Linked DNA regions of Homo sapiens: region 2 is linked to region 1. Evidence: promoter capture Hi-C in 16 types of primary human blood cells and fetal thymus (Javierre and others, 2016). All regions are on one chromosome and are shown on one strand. Each heading gives the region's core, a stretch centred on a gene start or on the middle of the fragment in contact. The rest is flanking DNA. Distances are from core to core; before and after follow the strand shown.

Evidence for each region. Contacts are between HindIII fragments. The CHiCAGO score rates a contact against its expected background, and 5 or more counts as called.
Region 2: a fragment that was not itself captured here is called in contact with the fragment with the promoter of LYRM4 in region 1 in 1 of 17 cell types (neutrophils); the score reaches 5.1 in neutrophils.

The regions. Positions count from the first base shown.
Region 1 is chr6:5,258,053-5,262,953 of GRCh38, reverse strand. LYRM4 (LYR motif containing 4) reads left to right here and starts at 2,004. Exons shown (of 3, transcript NM_020408.6): 1 at 2,004-2,306. The coding sequence starts at 2,221. FARS2 (phenylalanyl-tRNA synthetase 2, mitochondrial) reads right to left here and starts at 1,441. Exons shown (of 7, transcript NM_006567.5): 1 at 1,294-1,441. RefSeq lists silencers at 1,924-2,143, 2,204-2,513 and an enhancer at 2,724-2,773. The HindIII fragment of the contact is 1,910 bases long and covers 954-2,863 here.
Region 2 is chr6:10,697,808-10,702,708 of GRCh38, reverse strand. PAK1IP1 (PAK1 interacting protein 1) reads right to left here. Exons shown (of 10, transcript NM_017906.3): 3 at 220-340; 4 at 70-144. Among named protein-coding and RNA genes, the nearest start is that of PAK1IP1, 5.3 kb to the right of the region's middle. The HindIII fragment of the contact is 1,512 bases long and covers 1,195-2,706 here.

The DNA of each region.
Region 1 (4,901 bases), core at 755-3,254:
ACTCTATAACAATGTGCAATTGCCTTGGTCTTGGATCCTTTAAGAAATAGCAAAGGGAAAACTCAAAAAAGTCCTTTCAATAAAGCAGAGGCTAGATTTGCTCAATGACCTGACCAACCAGGAAGTAATAGAAGTTTTGCTATCCTGTTTAAAAAATAATAATAAACAATAACAGACATGAGATTTTCAAGAAATCAGGGAGGAGACTTAAAGATATCTTAATAAAAGTATTTTCTCTTCAGTGCCTTTTAAAAAATGTCATTGCATCAGGATTAGTAAGAATATCTGGATGCAAGGACACCAGGTTGCAAGTACACTAAAGAATGGTAAGGTCAGAGAAGTGTTTTTTCTGCCTTTAAAGTTCCTGAAAATAGAGGCTGGGCGTGATGACTCACACCTGTAATCCCAGCATTTTGGGAGGCCGAGGCGGGCGGATTGCCTGAGGTCAGGAGTTCGAGACCAGCCTGACCAACATGGTGAAACCCTGTCTCTACTAAAAATACAAAAATTAGCTGGGCGAGGTAGCGCGCGCCTGTAATCCCAGCCACTCAGGAGGCTGAGGCAGGAGAATGGCTTGAACCTGGGAGGCATAGGTTGCAGTGAGCCCGAGATCCCGCCACTGCACTCCAGCCTGGGCGACAGAGCGAGACTCCATCTCAAAAAAAAGAAAAGGAAACAGAAAAGTTCCTGAAAATATAAAGTTGTTTAGACATACAGCAGGTATATCGTTTCAAAACCAAATACACTAAAGCAGATGAGAACACAACCGTGACCAAGTGGTTCGGAGAAAGATGGATTTTAATGCAAAGTTGTTTTGTTTTCACGCATAACGTACTTCTCGCTGTGCTTGAGTGCAGAAAGGTGTGGTTCTTCCTAAGGTTGATTACATAAAGCAAGATTCCAAAAACAAGAAAAGTGCTTTGCAAACACAGTAACTAGGACTGGCTGAAGCTTCCTGCGTCCAGTGCCATGCTCAAAGATCAGAACAAGCAACTTTATCCACCACTTTAATAAGATGATTCAAAAAAGCTGCAGTCTTCTGAAGAAAGCCATGGTTGAAAACTTGCTCCGCTTCTTGGAGAAAGCCTAAAGCCCTAAAGGTCTCTAATTATTCTCCAAAGTCTACAACCCAAGCTGCATTTTATGCATTTATTAGGTTACAAAACCACGGGAACTCTTCACTCAAAAGCAAAAACACATCCGGAAAGAGGAAAAAATCCACGGCCAATGTAAACCCCCTACAACACCAACCGCCCACGTCGTACCCCAGGCTGCAATGAGGCCGGCACTCACCCACCGCTCGCCCGGGAAGCCCAGACCCAGGTGTTTCAAAATCAGAAGTACGGCAGGCTCGTTCGCTCTCACGGGCAAGAATCTTAAACCCCAACTTCAGAGATACCCGCGCACGCTGGGCGCTGCCATTTTGACAGAAAGCGGGCCTGCCCCAGAGGCCCCTACGCAGGTCGCCCTGAGCAGAGCCGGAGTGCCACAGAACCCCTAGCTCATCACCTCCACACCCAGACGTCGCATCCCCCGGCCTGAGGAATGCCAAGAAACCCCACCCTGCCGACCAGGATCAGGCGAAATCAAGTCACCCTTGAAATCCCGCAAACTCTCTCAGGCAGCGCCGAGGGCGACCGCAGCCGGCGTGGGAGGGGCATCGGCGGTCAGGGGCGGGGCGTCGGTGCGGCGGCCTTCGGTAACCCGGGCAACGCGGCCTCCTGGATGTAGGAAGGGGCGCTGCCCCCGAAACACAAATGTCTCCGCCAAGACCCCAGACGGTTCCCAAAGGCTCTCCGTGATGCAACTGCACGTCCCTCGAATGCCTGGGCCTCCGATATCCGTCCGCCAGGAGCTTGGCTGGATGCACGGGCGGCCAGTCCTCTTATTTCCCCGCCCTCCCGCCGCGTGGAGCGGCTGCTGGGTCCCGAGCCTCCGGGCGGGGGCGGGATCGGGGCGGGGCGGAGGCATCTCCCTCCCAGCACCGCCCCCTTAGCTGCCCCGAGCCCTGCCTGCGCCCGCCCCCGAAGCGGCGCGGGACGCCTGGCGCCGTCCGCGATCCGCAGGGCTGCCCGCTTAGGCTTAGGCCCGGCCCGCTGGCAAAGCCGAGCCGCAGCATTTTATTTCGTTCGTGGTTTCCGCACAGGCTGGAGTTTCGTGGGTTGGGTCGTACTTGGGACCTCGGCGAAGAGGACCCGTTTATTTTTTTTTCTTTCCAAAATGGCAGCCTCCAGTCGCGCACAAGTGTTATCTCTGTACCGGGCGATGCTGAGAGAGAGCAAGCGTTTCAGCGCCTACAATTACAGGTGACCCAGCGGGCACCGGGGGCCGGGGGCGGGGGGCCAGGGGCCGGGGACCGGGGGTGCGGGCTGACGCGGAATATCCCCGGGGACTGGGAGCCACCGTGGTTTGCCGGCGGCTGCGAGGCAAGGACCGGGCTCCGCCATCGAAAAGCGTGCTCCTGCCTACAGGTGTGGCCTCTGAGACCTCGGGGAGGAGCCTTTCTTTCTACCAGGGGAGACGTTCATGTCTTGTGACGTTTTCCCCCTAAAGGCTATCTTGGTAGTTATTCTAGGAGCATGATTAGTGTTATGTTTCTGCAGAAGAGAAAAAAGGGATGGAAATCAGTCATTTGTGAAGTTAAGGCCAGTGTGTTGCATATGTAAAACTTCCCTTGAGCACTGGAAGAGTTGAGAGTGGAAGTGGCCAGTGAGTAGTACACTGCGACAAAGCTGAAGGCACACTCTAGCACCTCCCTAAAATTTCCTAGGTGTCGTAATGAGTTCTTTTGGTTGCAAGAATCCATTCTATTTAGGGTATGGTGGAAATGCGTAGCGGAAAAGGAAAAAGGGTCTCACAAGCTTTGGAGCTGAAACCTCAGTTTCTCCTGGCTCACCAGACAGAGATCCCGCTTACTGGACCTTGACAGCAGGATATTGAGGGCCTAAACTCACATCTTTAATATAACACATTCACTTTTTCTCACGCCTCCCCACTCCCCTATTTGCCTATGAGTCTTTTATTGTTACTCTTTGTATGTTTTTTCTAATTCAGAGCCTCTGCTTTCACAGTGTTGCTGGTTCTGACCCATCATTTTCTTATGGATTCTCTCTCTGCATTTTTTTTTAGATTTGTTTTTTGTTTTGTTTTGTTTTTACTAACTACCTGTCTCTCTCTGAGTTTGAGCCATATTCCCATGAGAAAGAATCTGGTTGGATCAACTCATCTCTTTACCTCAAGCCTCACTTAGGTGACTGGCCAGACTGTGGATTGGATGTCATAAGAGCAGAGCCTACCCTTGGAACACACCTGGTTAGGTAGGCCCCCCTCCAGCACGTGTGTGAGCTGGCAGGCCCTGAGATGGGTCTGCCCAGTACAACCTCTGTCAGAGGACAGGAACGCTAAGCCTCTTAAGCAATGACTCTCAAATTTTTAGAAACCCGCCTGGAAAATATACTCATGCTGCAAATTTGAAAACAGCATCTGGGTCATACCACTGAGGTTGTATCCACCCAGTTAAGTGGTTAAATTTCACGGGAGAGAATGATTTTACTTAATGACTTTGACTTTGGAGAATAAAGAGTGTAATAATAAGCATACTGGTGGAATTTTAGCAAGAATTAACCAAACACCTAGCACCAAGTACTTAACCAAGTCTGTTGAGGAAACACATGAAATATGCAAGTTAAATAAATAGAAACCATTTGATTTCACCATAGTCTGGAGTAAAATAGTTTGTCATTAAAGCTTACTCAGGATACACAAGGACTTGGAATCAGCAGGCAGTTCACACACTAAGGAAAGTGGCAGGGAGAGGGTTTATGTGAGAGCATGTAAGAAAGTCAAGGTGGAGCCCTCGAAGACTAACTTGGACAAGTCTCTCAATCTCTGTATTTCAGTTTTCTTGTTTATGAAATAGACTGTTGGACTAGACAATCTCTAAGGACCCTTCCATTTCTGAAATTCTCTTTGGAAATGATTTATGAGCAAATGAGGCCCAAGCGTTTTCAAATGAGTAATTGCCAACTGAACAGGAAAATCATTCACGAAACTCAACAGGAAAATCATTCAAACTTTAGGAAAATCATTCAAGACTCTACCTGAAAGGCAGAAAATTGAAAATGGGTTTCAGTATGGGCAACTGTAAGATCATATGCATTCAGAAAATAATTGATCAAATTATACCTTAAGCATATACTTTTAAGCTAAATTTACTATCCAAATATAAATATATTATCCAAAGGAATCTGATAATCATTTTATACTGTTACCTGAGATCATAGACCTAAAAACCGACATTCCTGCTATTACCTCCCTAGATAAACTTACTTGTTATAAAAATACGTCCTTTTACATTAAGGCTGTGTCTTGTGAATTTCAGGAAAAGTCCCTTCCCTCCTCTCTAATCTCTGCAGCTGTTTGTCACTGATGGCAAATCAATAGCAACACAACATCCACTATCAATTCTGTGTGCCACTGCTATCTTATGTTCTTCATGTCTATTAACACATTTGTTTTGACAATAATCTTGTGAGGTAGGTACTATTTGTATTACCCTGTAAGGCAACTGAGGCACAGGGAGCTTAAGTTACCTATCAAAACTAACACAGGTAGTGCTGAATAAGCAATCAAAAGCAGACTAGTAAACGTTTTTTAATGACCTGCGAATTGTGCCTTAAGTAATTAGAGTAGTGAAATAAATACTTTGGAACTCTCTTGCAAGACCTATAATATAGGCCACGTTTTGATAGCAGGAGCCCTGTCTGCTCCTCCAGTCTCAGCCTAAGTCCCACATGTGCATCCTGTCCTCTGTCATCATCAGTTGCAGTTTCCTAAATGTGCCACGTCCTGTTGGGCCTCCAGGCCTTTACAAGTACTGTTCTATCCAGCAGGCCCTTTAT
Region 2 (4,901 bases), core at 701-3,200, 5.4 Mb before region 1:
TTTTAGATGGTGGAGAGCTGTAGTAAAACACACACCTTAGATAAATGCTCTTGAGCATTAATGACTTACCTTAAAGTTTTATCTGTACCAACCGACAGGGCCAACTTGCCAGATGGGTGAATAGAAAGGAAGGTCACCTGTCCTCTATAATGAAACCAAAAGTTAGTCCCCAACTTGACTGGCACATCGAGAATGCCAAAGGGAAAGAGCCCGACTCACTTGTGAGCTTTAATTGACTTCAGGCATTCCCATTTCTTTGCATCCCAGATACAGATGAGTCCATCTTCCGCTCCACTGATTAAATGCCTGTTGCCATAGAATTTCAGGCAAGTTATTGTACCTATGGAAAAACCAAAATAGGCAAAAATAATATTCATTTTAAATGCAAACTCCATTTCTGATTTGAAGGCTATGCTATGCTAAGTAAAACACTCAATACCTTTTTTTCTTTTTCTTTTTTTTTTTTTTGAGGCAGGGTTTCACTCTTGTTACCCAGGCTGAAGTGCTATGGCATGATCTTATCCCACTGCAACCTCTGCCTCCTGGGTTCAAGCAATCTTCCCACCTCAGCCTCCTGAGTAACTGGGACTACAGGTGCACATCAATATACCTAGCTAATTTTTGTATTTTTTGTAGATACAGTGTTTCACCATGCCATGTTGCCCAGGCTGGTCTTGAACTCCTGGGCCCAAGTGATCTGCCCACCTCAGCCTCCCAAAGTGCTGGGATTACAGGTGTGAGCCACTGTGCCTGGCCTCAATGTCTTAATATTACTAAAACATACCTTAAATTTTTTCATGTAAGTACAGTTGTTCAAATCTATGCAAATATTTTCAGCAGAGTATCTCCAGTTTAGATACAGATTTGAACAAATCAGTTCACGTCCTTGCTTTATGTCTTCAAATTATAAATTTAGGAGGTGGCTGGCTAGGATAGTTTGAGCAGAAGTAAACAAAACTAATCAGCTAACAAGCTAATCTGGGGAACAAACCAGGTGTACTGCCACATGACTTCCACTTTCTAAACAGTGAATTAGCTACCCAATCAGCCACAATCCAATCCTTATCACTCAGATCTGTTTTGATCCATTTCCACACACTTCTCATTCATTTGTTCATATTTTCCTCTCCCTATTATCCTATTTCTCACTTTGGAAAGTTTGGTTTCCCACATTTGCTTCCCTAGAAAAAAGCTTATCTATTAGCAACTCTTAGAAAAATAGGATTTATGCACCCATAAAAAGGAATGAGATCATGTCCTTTGCAGGGATGTGGATGGAGTTGGAAGCCATTATCCCCAGCAAACTAATGCAGGAAGAGAAAATTAAACACTGGCTAGGCGAGGTGGCTCATGCCTGTAATCCCAGCACTTTGGGAGACCGAGACAGGCAGATCACTTGAGGTCAGGAGTTCAATACCAGCCTGGCCAACATGGCGAAACCCCGTCTCTACTGAAAATACAAAAATTAGCTGGATGTGGTGGTGTGTGCCTGTAGTCCCAGCTACTCAGGAGGCTGAGGCACAAGAATCGCTTGAACCCGGGAGATGGAGGTTGCAGTGAGCCGAGCTCTGCCACTGCACTCCAGCCTGGGTGACAGAGAAAGACTGCATCTCAAAAAAGAAGGAAAGAAAGAAATAGAAAAGAAAAGAAAAAGAAAACCAAACACCACATGTTCTCACACAGGGGAAAAACAACACACACTGGGGCCTGTGGGAGGGGAAGGGTTGCGGGAAGGAGAGCATTAGAAAGAACAGCTAATGGATGCTGGGCTTAATACCTAGGTGATGGGATGATCTGTAAAGCAAACCACCATGGGACGTTTACCTACGTAACAAACCTGCACATCCTGCATGTGTACCCCTGAACTTAAAAGTTGAAGGAAAAAAAGAAAAAAGAAAAAAAGGATTTATACAAGAAATAAAGGAAACCAAGAAACCAAGAGCCCTACTTCATTCACCCCCCAATCTAAACTCCTTCTATGTAATTCCTTTTCTTATTGTTGAACACTTGTACTAATGGGTTTGGGCAGATCAAATTTAACTTATTTCTTCCAAACCTGAGAGAGAAGCCTTCTTTGTAACAAACTAGGACTAGGAGATAGAGAAAAAAAGAATGTATATTTGAATCACTCAAAGCTCAGCTTCTGATGAAGAGCAAGACAGCTGTTAAAGCAGCAATGGACAGTCTGCCATGTGTGAAAGTGTCCCCCAAAATTCATTTGCTGAAACTTAGTTGCCAATGTGATAGTTTAAGAGGTGAGACCTTTAGGAGGTGATGGTGACTAAGTCATAAGGGCAAACCCTCATGAACGGGATTAGAGGACTGGCGACATTATAAAAGTTGTTTTTTTTGGCAGGGCGCGGTGGCTCACGCCTGTAATCCCAGCACTTTGGGAGGCTGAGGCGGGCGGATCACTTGAGGTCAAGAGTTCAAGACCAGCTTGGCCAACATGGTTAGACCCGTCTCTACTAAAAATACAAAAATTAGCTGGGCGTGGTGGCAGGCACCTATAATCCAAGCTACCTGGGAGGCTGAGGCAGGAGAATCGCTTAAACCCAGGAGGCAGAAGCTGCAGTGAGCCGAGATCGCGCCACTGCACTCCAGCCTGGGTGACAGAGCGAGAAGCCCCCCCGCCCCCGCCAAAAAAAAAGTTGTTTTTTTCGTTTGTTTGTTTGCTTTTTTTAAACTGGCTCCAACTCTCAAGCTTGACCTTACAGAATTGTGCAGGGATCTGCTTTGCCCTTCTACCATGAGGACACAGCAACAGAGAGCCAGTCCTTACGAGACAAGAAAATCTGCTGGTGCCTTAATCTTAGACTTCCCAGCCTCTACAACTGTGAGAAATAAATCTCTATTATTGATAAATTATTCAGTCTAAGGTATTTTGTTATAGCAGTCTGAATAAACTAAGGGAACACCTAATAGAAGGAAGCCATTTATCGCTGCAAATTTACTGCTGGAAACCAATGCCTGGTGTGGATCCTCTGAAATACATGTAAGATTGGGTAGGAAAAAGGGCACCATTTTATCTGCCTTTCTTTGCAGAAAACCAACTTTCTTGGCTGAGTTACTCCTCATTCTCTGTCCCCTGGGAAAATGCAACAAAAACAGCATAAAATGTTTGGTACTGAAGAAAAAAATTTACCTGTTCAGTCTTTCTCTCCCTTGATTCTGCCACTATCCTGGGTACCTTGACCACCAGTGTGGAAAACCAAACCACAAGCCGGGAACTGTAGTACTACTTCTTGACTTCAACTCCAGTGACCTTTGCCTCCCCTGCATTTCAGTCCCCTACACCCACAGCCTGGGCATCGTTACCACATAGAGCTGTTCCACGTTAGAACTCTTGACCTCTAGGAAGCTATTTGCTGACCACAAGCTCACATCTTCCCATCCCTTTCATGCCTCTCTGCACTCACACTCCACCTGCTTTTGTATTTCAGAGATCTCCAGGCCCTTGACAACACATTTTCTTTTCTTTTCCTCTTTTTTTTTTTTTTTTTTTTTTGAGACAGAGTCTCGCTCTGTCGCCTAGGCTAGAGTGCAGTGGCACAGTCTCAGCTCACTGCACACTCTGCCTCCCCAGGTTCAAGCGATTCTCCTGCCTCAGCCTCCTAAGTAGCTGGGACTACAGGTACGTGCCACCATGCCCAGCTAAGGTTATGTATTTTTCGTAGAGACGGGGTTTCTCCTTGTTAGCCAGGATGGTCTCAATCTCCTGACCTCACGCTCGGCCCACCTCGGCCTCCCAAAGTGCTGGGATTACAGGCGCGAGCCACCGCGCCTGGCCTTTGACAACACATTTTCTCTATGTTGACAACCTAATCCACTCCTTCACCAAAATTCTTAATTCTCTTGTAACTCAATCCTTCTACCGCACACACCAAGTAACCTTCCTCTCTCTAGGGAAATGTCTGTGGCTTATTACTGAATAAACTCAGAAAATCTTGCAAACTGATGTTACTCAATCCGTAGCTGCCAATTCCAATGGGGCAGGCCTTCATCAGTCCTTCTGTTGGGGTTCTCAGTCAGCACCCCTCCGATACAAACTGGCAGTACTTTCCTCAAGCCCACATCATTCATTTGCTAGCTTGCTCCCTCCCTCCCTCCCAATTCAGTCTCTAACTGGCTCTCTCAAGGACTCCAGGATCTGGTCCCATCTACTTCTCTAGCCCCTCAAACTCCCAATTTAACCTTCTCATAATCCGGAACTGCTTACGGTTCCCTATGAACACCAGTGGTCAAAAGCATGGGCTCTAGGCCCAGGTTCAAGTTCTAGTTCCAGTGTTTGAGACCTTCGGCAAGTCAAGTAACATCTTTGAAACTAGGTGTTCTCTTCTACTTTCTTGGCACACAGAGGGGTACATAATATGCCCTCAATAAAGTCAGATATTGCTATGACGCTACATCTTTGAAACTAGGTGTTCTCTTCTACTTTCTTGGCACACAGAGGGGTACATAATATGCCCTCAATAAAGTCAGATATTGCTGTGACGCTACATCTTTGAAACTAGGTGTTCTCTTCTACTTTCTTGGCACACAGAGGGGTACATAATATGCCCTCAATAAAGTCAGATATTGCTATGATGCTACTACTTGTGCTCCTCACACTGCCGGCTCTGCCTGGAATGTCCTTTCTCCCTCCTTGCAAACTTTACCTGCCCAATAACTGACATTTCTCTTTTAAGATAATTCAGATGTCATTTTAAGGAAGGTTTCAGTGAAAACCTCACTCTGACTGGGTTAAATGCCTCCTTTCTGTCTCCCAATACAGACCGTAAGCCAACCCAGAGCAAGAAACCTTTTTTTTTTTTTTTTGAGACAGAGTCTCACTCTGTTGCCCAGGCTGGCATGCAGTGGCGTGATCTCAGCTTACTGCAATCTCTGCCTCACGGGTTCAA